Regions from separate parts of the Homo sapiens genome. Here all the other regions are linked to region 1. Evidence: promoter capture Hi-C in human tissues and cell types (Jung and others, 2019). All regions are on one chromosome and are shown on one strand. Each heading gives the region's core, a stretch centred on a gene start or on the middle of the fragment in contact. The rest is flanking DNA. Distances are from core to core; before and after follow the strand shown. Region 1 holds the start of POU4F2 (POU class 4 homeobox 2). Region 2 overlaps TTC29 (tetratricopeptide repeat domain 29). Region 3 overlaps SLC10A7 (solute carrier family 10 member 7). Region 4 overlaps TTC29 (tetratricopeptide repeat domain 29). Region 5 overlaps SLC10A7 (solute carrier family 10 member 7).

Region 1 (2,721 bases), core at 41-2,540:
GGGCCAGCCCGGGACTCAGGTGCTCCAGCAGCTCGCCCTCCAGCGCCTGGTGCGGTTGGTGGTGGTGGTGGTGGTGATGGTGGTGGTGGTGGTGCGTGCCCGCCAACGCGGAAGGGTGCGAGATGGGCACCGATGAAGAAGAGGCGGCCGACGTGCACGGGATGGTATTCATAGTGTGGTAGGTGGCGTCCGGTTTGAAGGGGCTGTGGTGGGGTGGATGGTGGTGGTGGCTCTTGCTCTGGGAGACGATGTCCACGGCTGCCAGAGCCTCGGCGCGGGCCAGCAGACTCTCATCCAGCCCGCCGAATATATTGCTCTGCAATTGTAAGTAGAAGGCACACATTACGCTCAGCAGGGAATTGTACGCCCTCTCTCCGGAAGCCCCGGCCCAGGGCTCGACACCGTCGCCGCGCCTACAACATTCCCAGATCGTTAAAATAATAATAATAATAATCCTGAAAACAGAGGTGAAGAGAAAAAGAGGGAAGCCACAGAAAGAAGCCGAGAGTGCAGGAGGAGGAGGAAAGTGAGCCTGTAGACACAACGAAACACAACACAACACGCGCACAGGCAACATCCCAGGTCATAAAAATTAATATGAAAGGCAAGACCTGCTGAATACTTAAGAGAGAGAGAGGGGAAAATTGGTTGGAGGTGTGGGGTGATTTGCTGTGCAGACATGAAAAAAACATCAAGCAGATAAAGGGGGCTGTCAAAATGTGCCTTTAAGCGGTGATTATGCAGAAATACGCACCGGTGGGGTTGGAAGACAGGCTCTCCGCATAGCCTCCGAGCCCCCGCCGCCGCTGCTGCCACTGCTGCTGGAGCTGCTGCTTCGGCCTCCGCCGCCGCCGCCGCCGCCGCCGCCGCCGCCGCCACCACCAGCGTTGCTCGAGCTGCTGGGGGAGCTGGCCGAGGGCGCGATGGGAGCCGAGGAGCCCGGCGAGGTGCTGTGCAGTGCCGAGTACTTGGGCTCCACGTGCAGGCTGCCGCCGTGCGGCATGCTAAACGCCTGCTTGCTGTTCAGGGACATCATCATCATCTTCCCGCCCGCCGGGGCGCTGGTCCGTAGAGGCACTCACTGGTCCCGGCTGCCGGGACCCTCCGAGAAGTGCCGGGCCAGCCGGGGCTGGAGCTGGGAAGGGCTGTGCGAAGTTGAGCTCACCCGCCGCCGCCTCCGGACTCTGTACGCCTGATCTCGGCTACGCGCTCCTTCGCCGCCTCTGCTGTCAGTCTGAACGGATGCCTGACTCCGCTTGCCGCTAGCTGCAGACCTCGGCACCCGAAACTGCCCCCGCTCCTCGCGGCCGGCGAGTTATACTCCCCTCTCCCCGCGCCTACCCCCGCGCCCCCCGCCCTCCCTCTCTCCCTCTCTCCCGCGCGCCTCCGCCCTCCCTTGCCAGGAAACGCCGGCTCCTGTTCGGTTTCTCGCGTTGCCCCTTCTTCCTCTCTACTCCCCTCAGGCTTGAGTCCTTTCTGCTCTCTCAGCACTCGCCTCGCGCTCCCCCACCGCGCCCTCCGCCGCCTCTTTTCTGCCCCCGCCCGTGCTCTGTTGCCGCCGCCCCTTCGCAGCGTCCCGCGGCTGCTACTCACAATCGCGCCCCCACTCAACCCCACCCAAATGGCCAGGTCCGCGCTCCAGTCGCCGGGCAGTGCCTACCTAAGGACCAGCCTCCAGCCCCTCCCGCTTCTTCTGCCGGGTCTCTGTCTCACCGGAAAAAGAAACTCCCAAATAAAGTTGCGGCCCAAGCCAGCGTTGGGTAGGTAAGAGTGCCTCTTACCTGGCTGCCACCTCCTACGCCTCCTGCTTACCACTAAGTTCCAGGCTTCCAACCCCACTCGGCCCGCCCCCACCCCGTCAGCTCAGGTGACCCTGATCCCAGGTTCCCGGCCACCGCTGAGAACACAGACGTTGCGGCCAACCCGGGTTCTGCGCGCGGCTCTGAACTCCCAGCCCAATACGAGCGGAGGTCGGCGTTCGGCTACGAGCCCCCCACGGCCCGGCGGGTGCCTGGTGCCAAAGAGACATGGGGTCGGAGGGGCTGCAGGGCTTTCTCTCACTCGATTTCTCGCAGCTCTCAGCGGATTGGACAGCCGCGGAGCAGGCTCGGGTCGTCTGTGCGCATGCGACTCCTCCCCCTCCCCGCTGTCCCCACCCCTCCCACAACACACACACACATACACACAGGCACACACACACGCTCCTCTTGCCCCCCTTTTCTCTTCCTCCTCCTCCCTGTATCCAGTACAGTTCGAGTTGAGTCTTGGAAGGATCCACTGGCAAACCCTGCCCCTGGATTTATTATTCTTCATTAGCCACAATCAAAGGAAGAAGGGGCAACTGACAGGGAGAGGGAAGGTCAGAAATTACACAGCGCATATGCTGCTGAATACACCCCACAACACAGACACACACACACACACCCTCGGGGGCTGGCACAAACCTCACTTATCTTCATTTCCACAGCCTCTCGGTGCGGAGCCTATTTTTAGCTGACACTTCACTCCCACTTCTGTCCCAGTCCCAGTGCAGACCACTTTTCCTAGAGATGGACACACACTCTTGGTTCCAGTTGCAAAAGGAGATAATCTCTTTCTATCTATCTCTCTCTCTCTGTCACACACACACACACACACACACACACACACACACACTACTTCCTCTCCTTCTGGATCCCATTTTCTCTATACTTCCCGCGGTGTTGGGGGCTGCTGTCACCT
Region 2 (2,700 bases), core at 76-2,575, 300 kb before region 1:
TCTTCTCTCCCTTTTTAAATTTACTAGGGCTACACTGGTGTGGGTTAAGAACTTAGATGATTCCGATGTTCACTGTAACATTGGAAGACTCTGGAACTCTGTGGAAAAGTCTTCACAGCTCCTCTGAAGTAAGCTCTTGGGAGGCCCGTTTGGGGAGCTTTGGTGTCCCTTCAAACCTCACATGAGTTATAACTTCTTACCATATGCTCTGTATGATGCTGCCATTTAGTAAGTTCTTGTTATTCCAGTAACTCAACTGTTTAATATAACATCTAATCAGAAAAATAGATTTTTTAAATTAAAAAAATTGTCATTACGTTATGAAGTTATAAAGGGTAATATAGTATGTTTCTAATGTTTAGTCTGTAGGAGAGGACTAACATTTGCTGTTTAGATTGTGCACTTTAAAGCATAGACCCTTTAAAGGGTAGACCCTTTGCTTTCCAATTAATGTTCATTAACTTCCACTCTTAATGCCTTAACTGCATAAAATAAGTGGGCATTTTGTTTCATAGATCATATCATGCCTTGATAAACTGGTAGTACTAGGATTCTGTTATATTTAAAATAAACCACTGATCTCCATTAGAATTCTCTTTAATTATGTAAAAAATTATTTTTAGGCCAGGATAATAATCTTTTTCAGTAACACAAAGCTGTCTATTTCTACACTGAATTTCAGAAGATTTTCTCTCGTCTTAGTGCTTCTGCACCCCTACCTCCACCATGGCTTTGTAGCACTAGAGGAATATTGTGTCTTAGCTATCCACAGGTGGTTCTATTTCAGGTTTGACTACATCTCTCCTTCTCTACTCCTACCTAAGCCACCACTCTCTCTCCCCTGTATTTCACAGGAGGTTTTGGGCTGGCCTCTCTGCTGTCTACCCTTTCCCCCACTACAGTCTAACCTGAAAGAAAAACTCAGAGTGATTTTTTCAGGATGCAAGTCAGATCGTGTCAATTCTATGCTCTGTATCCTCCAATGGATTCTTACCTCAATAAGAATAAAAGCCAGTTTTTAGAGTAACCATCAAGACATTACACTATTGGGACACCGAACAAAATTCTCCATAACGTCTTTGAGCTTGTCTCCTTCTGCTTTTACTCATCCCTTTGCCATTGGTGAGCATCTGGGTAGTTTCTAGTGCTCTGCTTTGTTTTCCAGCAGAGAATCTTATCAACATCTGAGGTTCTATATATTTTGCTTATTTGTTTAGTGTCTTTCTCCCTATTTACCCCCATACTGCAAAGTCTGTGAAATCAGAGAGTTTTGTCTTTTTCTTCACTGCTGTATCTTTGGCACCTAGAACAGTGCCTGGCACCAAATAGGAGCTCATTAAATATCTGCTGAATATATTCAAGGCCCAGATTTTATTGTGATTTTCCCTGGGTCACACAGGTAGTAATGCTGAAGATAAGCCATTTAAAACCTAAAACAAGCCTTTCAGCTTCTTGGTGAAGCTAAGAGTACAGGTCAAACCTGGTGGACATAGACGGGGTGGGATCAGGAGCCCCTGGCCTTTTGGATGCCTCTCTATTTAACAGAAGCATGGGTTCTTTTGTATCTGACAGCCCTTGCACCATGTAACAATTTTTCTATTCTAAGTTCACAGATGTCATGTCCACACTTCTTCCTCTTTGGAATAGGATTTAGATAATTTGATTTTATAGACTTGCCTTCCTAATTGCTCACCACTCTGGCACACTGCATTTTCCAAAAAGGGCTGCAATAATATCTCCCATGCCATATTCTTTTATTATAATGAAACTTTGACACTCTCCTATCAATAGGTGGTTCTGTATTCATTTGCCTTGAATCTGGGTGAACTTGTTATTACAGTAGAAGTGGATGCTATGTGACTTCCAAGGTTAGACCCTAAAAGGGGATAAAGCTTCTGCCTGGCTTTTCTCTAAAATACTTGCCTTTGGAGCCTGGAGCTGCTATATAAGAAGTCTTAGGTTGCCATGATGTGAGGGAGTCCATGCCACATGAGGAGACCACATGTGTGAGTTCTGGCAGATAGCCCCAGTTGAGTCCCAGCTAACAGCATCAACCACTAGAAAAGTGAGTGAAGACACTTCAAGGTGATTCCTGTCCCCTGTCATTGGGTTACTACAGCTTCTGAGTTTTCTCAGCAGAGGCTCCCATCATCATGGAGGAGAAAAAATCCATGCCTATGATACCCTGTCCTTATTCCTGAACCATGTAAAGTGTGAGATAAAGTTGTTTTAAACAACTTTTAAAAAACAGTACATTTTGAAGTGATTCATTATATTGTTATGGCTGTGTGCTTTCTCAGGGTAGCTGTCTCCTTGTTGAGAATTGTTCTTATCATCTATCACATCTAAGGGAAAGCCTTTATTTGTGAGCGATAAGGCTTTTAGAAAACAGCAAGTATAAGCAATTTTCAATTATTGATTGTAACAGGAAAGCAACACATAAACATTGGAAATCCATAGCTATCCTTAAAATCTTTATTCTTTAATTGCAATCATGTCCCTTACAAAACTCTTACCAAAGATGCCAACTGAACCATCAATGCATTTATCAAATTTTCTTCTTATCTACTTTGTGCTGAAGATACAGACAAATAATAAGTTGGCCAAAAAGCAGACAATGGAAGAAAATAATGAGAGAAGCAACCTGCAGAATCCACTCACTGAGCATGATTCCCGAATAACACAGCTGTAGCACTACAC
Region 3 (2,700 bases), core at 115-2,614, 390 kb after region 1:
TAGTACACACTGTTATAAAGAATTTTACTTGTGTCTAAAACTACAGTAATTTTGCTTAGGTAATTGTGCTTACCTATGGAGCACAGGAAGGCTCTTAGGTTTTGTTCCTACAAGTTTCTTTGAATTTTGGAGTAAATGGAAGTGTCTGTCTGTCTGTCATCTATCTGCCCTATCATAAAAATCTTTCTCCCTAACATTAAAATACTGATCCCCGCCCCCAACTTATCTACCTCTATTGTCTAACACCTATAGTAGGTGTGATCATGGGATAAAATTCAACTGAAAATGCTATGATAACATTTTATCGTTTGCTTTAAAAATGTGCTTTGTTTTCAAATAATCTTTACATAGTGAACTTTGGTGGCGTTAGTGATATGTTTATGCCTATTTCTTTTTTTTACACAAATTCCTTGGCATATTTTTTCATAAAGAACAAAAAATAAAATCAAAATTTATTTTTAATTCATGCTTATTGGGATTTAATTATTCAGAGCTTAAAATATTTTGTTATGTTTATACACTGTAAAGCTATCTGTTTTATGCATTTGTTTTGTCTAAATGTATTTATGAAAGAAATACATTAGATTATATTTATGTTTACTCATTTTTCCACCTGGATTTTTTTTAATGGTTGTTACAAAATTAGATTTTTTAATGGGTAATAATGTTGGTATTTTCATGTTTTTTCTTAGTATTAAAATTTTTGTGGGTTTTTTAAAATTTTTCCCTATTCTGTTAAAAATTAACACACCTCTAGCTAATGTTCAGTGTTTGTGCTAAATACCAAATTTTTTCAAAAGGATTGGTTAAGTCATAAAGTGGATTATTTATGATGACTGGAAGATGAAAATAATTATATGATTAAACAAAGAATGTTTCAGAAATCACAAGAGAAACTGTGGCTTATTTTTAACCTGATTTCAGATGGCCTTGTGATGCCTTCTAAGTGTCTTTAGATTTCTCTTGATTCATTTCTGCACCGTTATGTCATTTGTCGTTATATAGATGTAAACTTCATAGTCTCCCGGGTATTTCTATGGGTACCTCCACCACACCATGATGTTAAAATCTAGAGGTAGCCCTTGCCTTTTTATGAGAGATATTTTCTCTGCATCAAGGTTTAGGACCAAAAGGAAAACATATGCAGCAGAAGGGACAAAATGTAAGTGATCTGAATTTCAGTTTTGAGAAATAGGAATGATAAACCTTAGAATGCCATTCCCAACACCAGTGTTTCTTTGATGAGCAAGCTACCTTGTATAGAATTTCATACCTTTGTGTTCTTGTCTTTGCTGTCTTCTTGGCATAGAAATCCTCTTCCCCTGGAAGCCTGACAAAAATGTCACCTCCTCCATGAAGACTTCCCAAGCCAGTGCCATACTTGCGTCCTTTGACATGTCCTTACAACGTGTCCCTCAAGTCTTCTGAAACCTCTGCATAGTTTAATCATTAGTTTATATTGCTGTCTCCTCCAGTGCAGTAAACATTTCTGTTTTTCTACTGTGCCTCGCACAATGCCTGGCTCAAAGTAGTAGCCAAAAAATGTGTATTGACTTTTCAAATTGTGATCTTAATAGGTAGGACATGAACCTTCACAATTACAAGCACTCTTCTCTATATCGGGTCATTATTAATTTATAAGGAAAACTGACTCTTTTACTACAATTCCTATTGTGAATAAACTGTGAAGCACTGCCTTGTGCTCCTCATAGGAATATATTACTTCATAGCTGTGTAAATATTAACTCTCCAAGGCAAGACTGCAGGTATGATATGCAAGCAACTTTCATCTTGCATGCCTTGACAGAACAATAGACCCTCAGTAATTTAAGCTAAATCAAGTTAGATCGATCTGAATTGATGAAAGCTTTATATACATAAAAAATAAAAGATTTCCTTATAGAAATTCTGATGTACTTACTTTAAAAACTAGATAAAAATTATCATCGTCAGTTTGTATACAGGCAATATATGAAAGGTCTTATAAGACTTTCTTTAACAAATCTTAGTTGCACTATAGGACAGTTTTTCTCAAATGTGAGTAAAATGCAAAACCCATTTAAAGGGAAAAAAATTTTGTAGACTCTGGAGAACTTCTCTTCAAACCTGATTATGAGAAACTCTGTATTAAACATTGAACACTGTCACTCTAGCAGGGTGCGGTGTGGTTGTCAACACGAGTGCAAACAAAGGCACTGAAATCACAGGGTCATGCTGGATCATAGGGTCCTCATCCAAATCACCTGAAACGGGCTCTCCCAGATCTCCACCCACTTCTGAACTCTCCGGCATCTCAAACGCCATGGCTGTTCTCTTCTGTGAACTTCATCCACCCAGACATGGAATTCAGCTCCAGTTACTTGATCACTACAGAAGTCTCAACACACTGAAAGTCTGGGGATGTACAAACTTTTTTCTTTTTTTCTTGATATGGAGTCTCGCTCTTGTCACCCAGGCTGGAGTGCAGAGGCGTGATCTCAGCTCATTGCAACCTCTGCCTCCCAGGTTCAAGCGATCTCCTGCCTCAGCCTCCCAAGTAGCTGGGATTACAGGCACTTGCCACCAAGCCTGGCTAAGTTTTTGTATTTTTAGTAGAGATGGGATTTCATCATGTTGCCCAGGCCAGTCTCGAACTTCTGAGCTCAGGCACTCTGCCCACCTCGGCCTCCCAAAGTGCTAGGTTTATAGGCATGAGCCACC
Region 4 (2,700 bases), core at 176-2,675, 290 kb before region 1:
CAAGAGGACATAAGCCTAAATGTTTGTGCTTCTGATAGTAGAACTTCAAAAAAACATTAAACCAAAACTGATAGAAAGAAGAGGAGAAGTAGAAAAACCCATAATTTTTGTTGGAGATTCCAACATCACTCTTTCAATAGCTGGTAGAAAAACCAGTAGGAATATAGAAGCCTTGGACAATGCCTTTAATCACCTTAAGTAATTGACACTTACAGAATATTCCACCAAACAACAGTAGAATACATTATGTTCAACTGTGCATGGAGGATTTATCAAAGTAGATTATAGTCTGGGCCATAAAACAAATTTTAACATGTTTAAACAATTTAAATCCTTCCAACTGTGTTCTCCTACAGGAATGAAATTAAGTTAAAAATGATAGCAGAAAGAGTTTTGGAAAATCTTCCCGAATTGGGAAGCAAGACAACATACTTCTAAATAACCCCTGAATCAAAGAAGAAATCACAAGTCAAATTAGAAAATATTTTAACTGAATGAAAAAGAAAACACAGCATGTCAAAATTTGTGGGATACAGCTAAAGCAGTGCTTAAAAGGAAATTTATAGCATTAAAATGCTTGTATTAGAAAAATATAAATATCCAAAATTAATTTTCTAAGTTTTCATTTTCAAAAACTGGAAAAAGAAAGCAAATTAAACTCAAAGTTAGTAGAGAAAAAGGAATAGTAAAATAAGGGCAGAAAGCAACCAAAAAACCCATGAAACTAATGCTGGTTCTTTGAAAAAAAATTGATCAACCATTCGTCAAACTGATCAGAGAAAAAATAGAAGACACAGTTTACCAATTTGGGAAATGAAAAGGGACATATTACTACAGATTACACAGATATTAAAGTGTTACTAGGAGATAAACTTTATGCTGATAAACTCAACGACTTAGATGAAATGGCTAAATTTCTCAAAAGACACTGCCAAAGTTCACTTACATAGAAACAGATAACAGAAGAGATTTATATTTATTAAAGACATTAAATCTATAGTTAAAAAAACTTCCTACAAAGAAAATTCCAGCCCCATGTGGCTCCACTAATGAATTCTACCTAACATTAGGGGAAGAAATAATGACAAACTCAACACGAACTCTTCAAGAAAATAGAAAAGGAAGAAACAGTTCTCAACTAATTCTCTGGCAAATAATATGATTAAGCAGCTGAAAGATCTTCATGACAATGTTAATATAAACCTATCACATGTATTAATTAGGGTTAAGGAGATGATCAGGAAACTGAGATTTAAGTGTATTAAGTATATTCTTAAGTGCAGAAAAGTAATATAGCACATGCTATATATATGTTATTTGTTGAATATAAAATATTAATCTAAAAAAATAAAACCAGTAATATTTGCAAATCAGTTGTCCTAAAAACTTTACCCTGAATTGAAATGTTCCTTTTATTAAATGCCAAATTTTCATGTGTGTATGCATATACCTATACACATACATGTACATATATATTCTGTTATATTGATTTATTTGCCTTTTCTTATATTAATGCCACTAATCTTTTTATCAATATAGTTGAAATGCATTCTTATATTTGGCAGACAGTCCCTTTTGTTCCAAATGAGAAAGTTTTTCTTGTATATTCACTGTTTTATATGAATTTTAGAATTATCTTGTCAAGAGTTGGGGAAATATCATTAAGCTTTTATTGGGATTGTGTTAAGTTCATATGTTATTTTAGGAGAACTGACATTATTAAAATACTGAGTCCCACATTAACAAGGACCTTTCATTTCAATGATGTTACATAATAGCATTGACAGCGGCGTCTCTTCACATTCCTGGCTTCAGTGAAGACTATTCTAATGTATCCCAAAGAGAAAGCCCTTTGCCATAGGTTTTTTAATAGATACACGTTACCAAGATAAAGAAACTTTTTTTTAGTTTCTATTTTTCTTAATCATGTGTGAGTGTTGAACCTTGTGAAATAATTTTCTAGCACCTACTAGATTATTTAAAGTTACTAGATTTTCTATTTTGAACTATTCTTCCAATTCTGAGATAAACTCTACTTACGATGGTTTCGATTTATTGACTTCTCTGTGTGTTAGTGTGCACGCGCGTGTGTGATTTTTGTATCTAAATAATAATGATATTGAGCTACGATTTTAATTTTCTTATGCTACAGTTTAAGGTTTTGTAAAATTGGCTAAAGAATTTTTATCTTATTCAATTAAAAGTGAGGGCAAATTAAAAATTTTTTCAGATAATGCAAGGACCTAGAAACATCTCTTCCTCTGCAGTCTTTCTGGGCCCTCCCCCAGTGAAAGAAATTACAATGGTTACTTGTATTTTGTAAAATTGACTAAATAATTTTTTATCCGTTTCAATGCTCTAGCACATTTTGGATGAAATGGGAATTTCTTAGTATTGAAAATTTGGTAGAACTCCCATGTAAAACAGAATAGTTTCTCTCCTTTGGTGAGAGTAGGGGTCAGGGGAAAAGGGGTAGGTAGGTCTTGTAACTGGTCTTCTAAATCTTCTCCAGCTATTGTTATTTTAAAAAATAAGTGCCTATTTATGTAAAATTTTATATTTACTGCAATAAAGTTTAACATGATATTTTCTAATAATGTTAAAGCCTCTTCTATATTTCTTGAAATATTCTCTGTATCTTGGAGGGAGTGTAAAGATAATGATGGCTAATAATACGGGGTCTAGGGTTGGACTGCCTCT
Region 5 (2,700 bases), core at 107-2,606, 280 kb after region 1:
TGTTGGGTCTTGTTTTAAAAAATCTACTTAGCCACTTTGTCTTTTGATTGGAGAATTTGGTCCGTTTACATTCAGTGTTATTATTTATAGGTAAGCACTTACTACTGCTTTTTTTATTATGTGTTTTCTGGTAGTTTTGTTGGTCCTGTCTTTTTTATTTTCTTTCTGTTTTCTTTTGTTTATAAGTAATTTTTCTCTCACAGTATCTTTTAATTTCTTGCTTTTTACTTTTTGTGTCTGTGTTATAGATTTTTGCTTTGTGTTTAGCATGAGGCTTGCAAATAACATCTTATAACCAATTATTTTAAAACGATGAAAACTTTAATCACAAAGAAAAAAACACGCAAGGAAAAAACTAAAAATCTCATGCTTTAAATTCATTCATTTCACATTTTGACTTTTTGTTGTCTCTATATCTTATTATATTGTCTATTATCAAATTGTTGTAGTTATTATTTTTATTAGATTTAATCTATTATTTTTAATAGATTTGTATATTCATTCTACTGAAGATATGAGTGGTTTACATTATTAGAGTATTCTGTATTTGTGTACTTACATTTACAACATTATTTGTTCTTCATGTTTGAAAGATAATTTTGCTGTATATAGTATTACAGGTTGAAATATTTTTTCCTTCAGCATTTTGAATATGTCATCCCACTCCCTCCTGGCCTGTAACGTTTTCATGGAGAAGTCTGCTGCCAGACATATCAGGGATCATTTATATGTTATTTGCCTCTTTTCTCTTGCTGTTTTTAGCATCCTTTCTTTTTCCTTGACCTTTGAGAGTTGGATTATTATATGTCTTGGAGTAGTCTTATTTAGGGTCAATCTGCTTGGTGTTCTTTGACCTTCTTCTACCTGGATATTAATATTTCTCTCTAGAATTGGAAAGTTCTTTATTATTATTTCTTTGAATAAACATTCTACCCTGATTTCTTTCTCTACAGCCTCTTAAGGCCGATAACTCTTAGATTTGATTTGCCCTTTTGAGGCTATTTTCTATGTCTTGTAGGCATACTTCATTCTTTTTTATTCTTTTTTATTTTTCCTTTTCTGGCTGTGTATTTTTATATACCTGTCTTCAAGCTCACTAATTCTTGCTTCTGCTGGATCAATTCTGCTGTTGAGAGACTGATACATTTTTCGGTTTGTCAATCAAATTTTTCAGCTCCAGAATTTTTGCTTGATTTTTAAAAGAATGTCAATCTCTTTGTTAAATTTCTCTAACAGAATTCTGAATTTCTTCTCAGGTGTTATGTTGAATTCATTGAGCTTCCTGAAGACAGCTGTTTTAAATTCCATGTCTGAGAGGTCACATATCTCCATCACTCCAGAATTGGTCACTGGTGCCTTATTTAGTCTGTTTGTTGATGTCATGTTTTCCTGGATGTTTCTGATGCTTTTGGACATTTATCCATGTCTGAGCATTAAAGATTTAGGTATTTATTCCATTCTTCACAGTCTGGACCTGTTTGTACTCATCCTTCTTGAGAGGGCTTTCCAGGAATTCAAAGGAGTTTTGCAACCTGTGTCTGTGCTCACTGCAGCCATTTCAGCACTAGGGGGGTGCCATAAGCCCAGCAATACTGCAACTGTTGCAGCCTTCTAGATAAATGACCCTGGCAGACTTGTGGAAATAAGGGAGAATTTCCTGGATTACCAGGCAAGTCGGTCACTTTCTACATGTCTTTACAACCTTCTTGATGATCTGTTTAGAAGCTATATTGTGAAAGAATATAATTTTTATTTGATGGTTTATTTTGCATTTTGATTATCTGTTATATTTCTCATTGAACAATAAATCACAAAATATTTTGCCAACATTTTTAACTTTAAGTAATATTTGTTGAGTGCATACCACAAATTAGGCATTATATGAGTGCCACAGAACAATAAGAAGCAAGATAGATTGCCCTGCTTCCTCAGAGTTTTCATCTAGTGGAGAAGACAATTATTAAAATATAATGTGATAAATGCTATGATAGGAGAAGATAGGGAACTATGGGAGTATATGTTAAAGACTTTAATCCATTCTAGGGACCTCAGGAGTGCTGATACCTGAAAGATGAGGAAAGGGGTTGTAGGGAGTAGAGAGCAGAAAATACATGTTCCTAGTAGAGGGAACAGCATGCACAGAGGCCCAGCCCAGAGAATAAGTTCATTGAACTTATAGGTGAGCCGGGGGGTGACCTAATCAGATCTGTATATTTGTTGACTCCTAAGCTCTGAAGACCAACTTCCAGGCTTTGAATCCTAGTTTACTTCTTTCTTGCTAAACGAACTTGGGAAAGTACTCTTCCTCTTCAAGCTTCAGTGACTTGATTTAAAAAGAAAGAGAGGCTGGGCATGGTGGCTCATGCCTGTAATCCCAGCATTTTGGGAGTCTGAGGAGAGAGGACTACTTGAGCTAAGAAGTTTGCAACCAACCTGGGTAATGTAGCAAGACCTTGTCTCTACTAACAAAAAAACAAACAAACAAACAAACAAAAAGCCAGGTGTGGTGTTGCCTGCCTGTGTTTCCAGCTACTCAGAAGGCTGAGGCAGTAGGATATTTTGAGCCCAGGAGTTTGAGGTTGCAGTGAGCTATGATTGTGCCACTATACTCCAGCCTGGGCAACAAAGCAAGACCCTGTCTCAGAGATTAAAAAAAAGAAGAAGAAGAAAGGAAAGAGGAATATAGTGCCTTCTTCTCAG

The links. Contacts are between HindIII fragments. The study calls those that stand out against the background at their distance.
Region 2: a fragment that was not itself captured here is called in contact with the fragment with the promoter of POU4F2 in region 1 in 5 of the 25 tissues and cell types used here (H1 embryonic stem cells, adrenal gland, bladder and 2 more).
Region 3: a fragment that was not itself captured here is called in contact with the fragment with the promoter of POU4F2 in region 1 in 2 of the 25 tissues and cell types used here (dorsolateral prefrontal cortex and thymus).
Region 4: a fragment that was not itself captured here is called in contact with the fragment with the promoter of POU4F2 in region 1 in 5 of the 25 tissues and cell types used here (adrenal gland, aorta, mesendoderm cells and 2 more).
Region 5: a contact is called between a fragment that was not itself captured here and the fragment with the promoter of POU4F2 in region 1, in 2 of the 25 tissues and cell types used here (mesenchymal stem cells and small bowel).

Annotation. Positions count from the first base shown.
Region 1 is chr4:146,637,462-146,640,182 of GRCh38, reverse strand. It overlaps POU4F2 (POU class 4 homeobox 2), which reads right to left and starts at 1,290. Exons shown (of 2, transcript NM_004575.3): 1 at 755-1,290; 2 at 1-316. The coding sequence starts at 1,042. RefSeq lists enhancers at 610-1,191, 1,192-1,772, 1,773-2,354, 2,355-2,721. The HindIII fragment of the contact is 18,734 bases long and covers 1-2,721 here.
Region 2 is chr4:146,940,012-146,942,711 of GRCh38, reverse strand. All of the region lies in intron 2 of TTC29 (tetratricopeptide repeat domain 29), which reads left to right. The region is part of intron 1 of TTC29-AS1 (TTC29 antisense RNA 1); the gene reads right to left. Among named protein-coding and RNA genes, the nearest start is that of TTC29, 4.5 kb to the left of the region's middle. The HindIII fragment of the contact is 6,299 bases long and covers 1-2,700 here.
Region 3 is chr4:146,252,171-146,254,870 of GRCh38, reverse strand. It overlaps SLC10A7 (solute carrier family 10 member 7), which reads left to right. Exons shown (of 12, transcript NM_001029998.6): 12 at 1-890. Among named protein-coding and RNA genes, the nearest start is that of REELD1, 39 kb to the right of the region's middle. The HindIII fragment of the contact is 5,085 bases long and covers 1-2,700 here.
Region 4 is chr4:146,922,715-146,925,414 of GRCh38, reverse strand. The region is part of intron 4 of TTC29 (tetratricopeptide repeat domain 29); the gene reads left to right. Among named protein-coding and RNA genes, the nearest start is that of TTC29-AS1, 9.9 kb to the left of the region's middle. The HindIII fragment of the contact is 3,987 bases long and covers 1-2,700 here.
Region 5 is chr4:146,360,401-146,363,100 of GRCh38, reverse strand. The region is part of intron 5 of SLC10A7 (solute carrier family 10 member 7); the gene reads left to right. Among named protein-coding and RNA genes, the nearest start is that of MIR7849, 47 kb to the left of the region's middle. The HindIII fragment of the contact is 5,669 bases long and covers 1-2,700 here.